2 separate regions of the Homo sapiens genome follow, and region 1 is linked to region 2. The links are contacts of gene promoters, found by promoter capture Hi-C in blood cells and fetal thymus (Javierre and others, 2016). All regions are on one chromosome and are shown on one strand. The core of a region is centred on a gene start or on the middle of the fragment in contact, and the rest is flanking DNA. Distances in the headings are between cores, read along the strand shown. Region 1 has its middle 64 kb from the start of RBBP6. Region 2 holds the start of SLC5A11 (solute carrier family 5 member 11).

What was found. Contacts are between HindIII fragments. The CHiCAGO score rates a contact against its expected background, and 5 or more counts as called.
Region 1: a contact is called between a fragment that was not itself captured here and the fragment with the promoter of SLC5A11 in region 2, in 1 of 17 cell types (endothelial precursors). The highest score is 5.2, in endothelial precursors.

The regions. Positions count from the first base shown.
Region 1 is chr16:24,602,283-24,605,438 of GRCh38, forward strand. No RefSeq gene overlaps it. Among named protein-coding and RNA genes, the nearest start is that of RBBP6, 64 kb to the left of the region's middle. The HindIII fragment of the contact is 1,222 bases long and covers 905-2,126 here.
Region 2 is chr16:24,844,505-24,847,649 of GRCh38, forward strand. SLC5A11 (solute carrier family 5 member 11) reads left to right here and starts at 1,459. Exons shown (of 17, transcript NM_001352248.3): 1 at 1,459-1,508; 2 at 1,728-1,934. The HindIII fragment of the contact is 4,984 bases long and covers 1-2,065 here.

The sequences.
Region 1 (3,156 bases), core at 266-2,765, 240 kb before region 2:
TTTTTTTTTTTTTTTTTTTTTTTTGTAGAGATGGGTTTTCTCTACCATGTTGTCCCGGCTGGTCTCAAACTTTTGAGTTCAAGTGATCCTCCCACCTCAGCCTCCCAAAGTGCTGGGATTACAGGCATGAGCCACTGCACCTGGCCTTTTATTATTATTTTTTTTTCTTTTGATACAGGATCTCACTCTTGTCACCCAGACTGGAATGCAGTGGCGCCAACACAGTTCACTTTCAGTCTCGAACTCCTGGGCTCAAGCAATCCTCCCACCTTAGTCTCCCGAGTAGCTGGGACTATAGGCACATGCTGCCACATCCAGGTAATTTTTAGGTTTTTTGTAGAGACAGGGGTTTTACCATGTTGCGTAGGCTGGCCTCAAACTTCTGAGTTCTAGTGATCCTCCTACCTCAGCCTCCCAAAGTGCTGAGATTACAGGCGGGAGTCACTGCGCCTGGCCAAAGTGTTTTTTGTTTTGTTTTGTTTTGTTTTTGGTTTGAGATGGAGTTTCACTCTTGTTAACCAAGCTGGAGTACAATGGCATGATCTCAGCTCACTGCAACCGCCGCCTCCCGGGTTCAAGAGATTCTCCTGCCTCTGCCTCTTGAATAGCTGGGGTTACAAGTGCGTGCCACCATGCCCGGCTAATTTTTTGTATTTTTAGTAGAAATGGGGTTTCACCATGTTAGCCAGGCTGATCTCGAACTCCTAACCTCAGGTGATCCACCTGCCTTGGCCTCCCAAAGTGCTGGGATTATAGGCATGAGCCACCGCACCTGGCCCAAAGTTTGTTTTTAAAGTTTGTTTGGCTGGACTAGAGTTGGGTTTAGTCTAGGACTATTTTGGTCCCACCACGGAGGTAAAACACTTCTGAGTATCCTACCTGATAGATGCTGTGTGAATTATGAAGCTTTGCATTCTAGGGTAATGGGCAAAAATTACTCCTGGCCATATGTGGCCCTCTAATCCTTTTGGTCAGGTCTTTTTCTAACATGCGTGTCATGATCTGTACTCCACTGAAGACTTGAGGGACATCTCTGCAGATCTTGATCTCTGTGCGGCTCTCTCCTCTCCAGTACCTGCCCTACAAACTCTGTCTTCCTTGGCCTCCCTGGACTCCCTGCTCTGTCTCCTCATCTCAGGGGGAACACCAGCCTCAGTTTGAAGTCCACCTCTCTGCACTGCAATTTGGAAACTTCCTCTAGGCAGTAATATGGGGCAATCATAGAGCTCACCTGGTTTGTTTCCCTTCTCTCATATATCCCTGCCCTTTGTTATCTGATGTCCAATGTCTTAAATACTGTTGTTGTTGTTGTTGTTGTTGTCGTTGTTGTTGTTGTTGTTGTTGTTTTGGGACAAAGTCTCTCTCTGTCGCCCAGGCTGGAGTGCAGTGGCGCAATCTCAGCTCACTGCAGCCTCCGTCTCCCGGGTTTAAGCAATTCTCCTGCCTCAGCCTCCCAAGTAGCTGGGACTGCAGGCAAAGTCACCATACATGGCTAATTTTTTGTATTTTTAATAGAGACGAGGTTTCACCAGGCTGGTCTCGAACTCCTGACCTCAAGTGATCTGCCCGCCTCAGCCTCCCAAAGTGCTGGGATTAGAGGTGTGAGCCACCATGCCCGGCCAAAACTGTTGTTTTATATATTTTATCTTGTTTGTTGTTGTTTCAGGGAAAAGAGTATACCCAGTTTCTGTTATGTCATCTTAATTGGAAGCAAAAGGCACTGCTTCTTTCTAAAAAGTTAAGCATAAAGTTTTATTAATAATCTCCATCCAATTATTTTATTATATGAAATTTATAGGAGTCTAATCCTGCACTTTCTTCTGTCTCCTAGTGCTTTGTAATTTATAACATGTTTTATAATTTTGGATTATAAACTCATCTGCAATGGGAACATAATCTGTGGGAACTCTGTGAGGTCTGGGCTTAGTGAACTTACCTCTAGATCACTTTTATATTTGCCTCTCTGAGGCTCCTCTCTTTCTATGTTATTTCTTATTTTTGGTATTCCAGGGCCATAAAAGTAATGTATGTTCAGACATCAAAACCACTTGAGAACAGGCCTTGGTTATTAATTATCATGGGAGTATTTTTTTTGCCTTGACCCAGAATTCAGGTCAAGTCACACAAGCTTCCGTGTTTCTCTGGGCTTAAAGGTGATCTTTTTTTGTTTGTTTGTTTCACCATGTATTAGTTAGGGTTCTCCAAAGAAGTAGAATCAGCATGAGAGAAAGAGATTGATTTATCCTGAGGAATTGGCTCATGCAATTATAGAGGCTCTGAAGTCTCACAAGTCTGCTCTCTGCAAGCTGGAGATCCAGGGAAACTTGGGGTGTAATTTGGTCCAAGTCTGAAAGCTTAAGAACCAGGGTAGCCAATGGTGTAAATCCCAGTCCAGAGGCTGGACAAGATGAGATGAGGTGTTCCAGCTCAAGAAGGCAGGCAGGAAGCAAAAGGGGAAATTTCCTCCTTCTTCCACCTCCTTCCTCCACCACAGATAACCCTTTTGTTCCATTGAGATTGAATGATTTCCACCCACATTGAAGTGGGCAATGTTCTCTACTGAGTCCATCCACTGAAATGTTAATCTCATCCAGAAACATTCTCACAGACACATCTAGAAATAATGTTTAATCTGGGCACCCCGTGGCTAGTCAATGTGACACATAAAATTTACCACCATGCACATTTTCACTGAGGATACAGCACTTTTAAGAGTCCCAAGCTGATGTGGAAGTTTCCACTCCCAGGCACAAGACTTTGTCTCCTGTACCTGCTTGGAGTTGCAACCCAGCCTCCCAAGGCTGCCATGTCCCTGCCAAGCACTAAATCCCCAGGGTGGATACAGCGTTAACTCGTATGCCTAGCTCTCTAGTTTTCTGGGGTTTTTTCTTCCCTTTTTAAAAATTATTATTATTAATTTTTTTAGATGGTCTCGCTGTGTCTCCCAGGTTGGAGTGCAGCGGCATGATCTCTGCTCACTGCAACCTCTGCCTTCCCCCGTTTCAAGCAATTCTCTTGCCTCAGCCTCCTGAGTAGCTGATATTACAGGCACATGCCATCACACCTGGCATTTTTGTAATTTTAGTAGAGATGGGGTTTTGCCATGTTGGCCAGGCTGGTCTCGAACTCCTGGCCTCAAGTGATCTCCCCACCTTG
Region 2 (3,145 bases), core at 209-2,708:
ATCCCAGCTGTTCCTTCTGTAAATCTGTCCCCCAGGGCAGGTCCCTCCCCCAAAGGCCCCATTCATACTGGTGTTGGTCAGTCACCCAGTGTTTGCTCACCCAGGCCACCCTTTATCCAGTCAAGCCACCCTCCACTGCTCCTGCAGGACTCTAGAGCCAGGTGGCCTGGGCTGAAATCTTGCTGTGTCACTTACAACCCGGGTGATCCTGGGCCGATGACTCATCTCCTCTACCTCTGTTACCTCGTCAGTAAGATAGAGATAACAGGACCTAACTTCGAGGGTTGTTGGAAAGACCAAGTGAGTAAAGGCATGTTGTGCCCTTAGAGCCTGGCACGTGTTCATCACTGCTATTATTTCTGGCTACTCGGTGCCAGGACAGGGGCCTCAGCTGAGGGCCCCCCAGAGCCTGGCAGGCCCAGTGAAGGAGTGAGATGGGGAGGCCACGACTCCTCCCCAGTCAGCAGCTGTCCTGTGGCCATGGGGGCCTGGTGAGGCCAGATCTTCAGGTTGTTCTAGAAAAGTGAGTATTCTAGAATTATGTTTCAAGCCTCTTGGTTTGCAAATACTAGTAACTATTTTTAAAATGTTTTGGTATTTGGCCTGGCACAGTGTTTGACCCCTGTAATCCCAGCACTTTGGGAGGCCAAGGTGGGAGGATCACTTAAACCCAGGAGTTGGAGACCAGCCTGGGCAACATAGCAAGATTCTCTCTCTACCAAAAAAATGAAAAAATTAGCTGGGTGTGGTGGTGCACGCCTGTAGTCCCAGCTACTCGGGAGGCTGTGGTGGGAGGATCACTTGAGCCCAGGAGGATGAGCCTGCAGCAAGCTGTGATGCCACCACTGCACTCCAGCCTGGGTGACAGAGTGAGATCCTGTCTCAGAAATAAAAAGTAAATAAAGTTTTGGATGCTTTGAGCATCTGGCAGAAATCTTCGCTATGCCCCGCTGATGTCCTGGGCCCGATGTGGGCGCCTGGCCATGGCTCGGTCACTCCTGACGGTTTTTCAGGGCCTCAGACACCTCTTCTTCTTCTTCTTCTTCTTTTTTTGAGACTGATTTTCGCTCTTGTTGCCCAGGCTGGAGTGCAATGGTGTAATCTCGGCTCACCACAACCTCCGCCTCCCGGATTCAAGTGATTCTCCTGCCTCAGCCTCCCGAGTAGCTGGGACCACAGGCATGCACCACCATACCCGGCTAACTTTGTATTTTTAGTAGAGATGGGGTTTCTCCATGTTGGTCAGGCTGGTCTCGAACTCTCGACTTCAGGCAGACACCTGTTCTTTGCCATGCCTCTGTCTGAAGAGTATATGGAAAGGGGTTGCACAAGCAATGGTTGCTGTTCCTGTTGCTGCCACTGCGGTGAGGGCTGTGGCTGGACGTCCCTCCTGGCACTTTGCCTCTGTCCCCTCCATCCGCCGCCAGCATTTTTCCTCCCCTCCCCTTCCTCCAGCTCGTCCCAAGCCTGCCTGTCCCCAGCGTGGAGGCGGGACAGTGGAAGACTGGGTGAGTGAAGCAGGATGGTGCCTTGGGCTCCAGCGTCTCCCCAACCCCTCCATGCCATGGGTCCCCACGCAGGTGAGGACCCTGGTGGAGGACGGTGTGGGCAGAGCGTGGGACATGTCACCTTCCCCACCTGCTCAGAGTTCAAGGGTCCTGGGCTGGGCCCCGTTCTCTCTTCTGCCCTGGGGAGATCATTCACGCTTCCTTTAATCCCCGCTGCAGCTGAGGCTGGAGTTTGGAGTTTGACCCGCTTGGAGGCTCTCTCAGCAGCGGGCATATAGGAGGAAGGGTCACTGCTGTCTCCGGAAGCTCTTGGCTGCAAAGAGAGAGGATCCCGGGTATCTCCCTCCTTACAACCACCGCCACCTCCTAGTGCCTTAGAAGCCACTGACAGCCCCCAGGGCAGGTGAGCCCTGCATCTGGAATAAGGTAAGACACCCCCTGCCCCCAAACAGGTAGCCACTCTCCAAACTGGGAAGTTGGTCTGGGGACAGGTGCTGGCAGAAGGACTCCAGCTGTCACCTGTGGGGCAGGGGAAGCTCAGCCCTCTCTGCAGAGAAAGCTTGTCATACACCAGGACAATGGAGTGTGTTTGTGGGGTGGGCATGGTGGTATGAAGCCAGCAGCCGGCAGCCAGCAGCACCGTACGTGGGTCCCAGCTCTTCCACTTAACCAAGGTCAGGGACATTGAGCCAAACATTTTGCCTCACCGAGTCTCAGGTTCCTTATCTGTCAAATGGGAATATGAACCTCAGGCTGACCCACCCCACAGGTGTGTTACCCAGAGATAACGAAGGTAAATGTATCCACATAAGCATTAAAAAGCTATAGGAATGTATTTACTACAACTGCAGCTGCTGTTAACTACAAGGCAAATACAAGTCTTCACTGGTACGTGTCAGACACGTGCAGAGAACTTTACGCCTGGATCTCATCTAACTGACACAGAAACCCTGTAAGGTAGGTACAGCACCCCCTAATTCATGGACAGAGTCTAAGGGTCATTAAATAACTTGCTCAAGGTAATACAGATAGTGAGTGGCCAAGCCAAGACTCAATTCCTGTGGCCATGAGCTCAGCCACAATATCAGTGATTTTCTTTTTCTTTCCTTTCTTTCTTTTTCTCTTTCTTTCTTTTTCTTTCTTTTCCTTTCTTTTCTTTGTTCTTTCTTTCTTTCCTTCTTTCTTTTATTTCTTTCCTTATTCCTTTCTTTCCCTTTCTTTCTCCTTCCTTCTTTCCTTCCTTCCCTCCCTCCCACCTCTCTGTTTCTCTTTCTTTTCCCTTTTTTCTTTCTTTCTTTCTTTCTTCTCTCTCTTTTATTATTTATTTCTTCCTTTCTTTCCCTTTCTCCTTCCTTCTTTCCTTCTTTGCCTCCTCTCTCTCTCTGTGTGTGTTTTCTGTTCTCTCTCTCTCTCGTTTCTTTTCTGTCTTTTCTTTCACAGGGTCTCTCTGTGTTGCCCAGGCTGAAATGTAGTACTATCATAGCTCACCAGCATGCCCTGCTAACTTTTTTATTTTTATTTTTTGTACAAATGGGGTCTCCCTGTGTTGCCTTGGCTGGTCTCAATCTCCTGAACTCAAGCGATTCTCCCGCCTCAGCCTTGCAAAGTGCTGGGATTACAGGCATGAGCCACTGCAC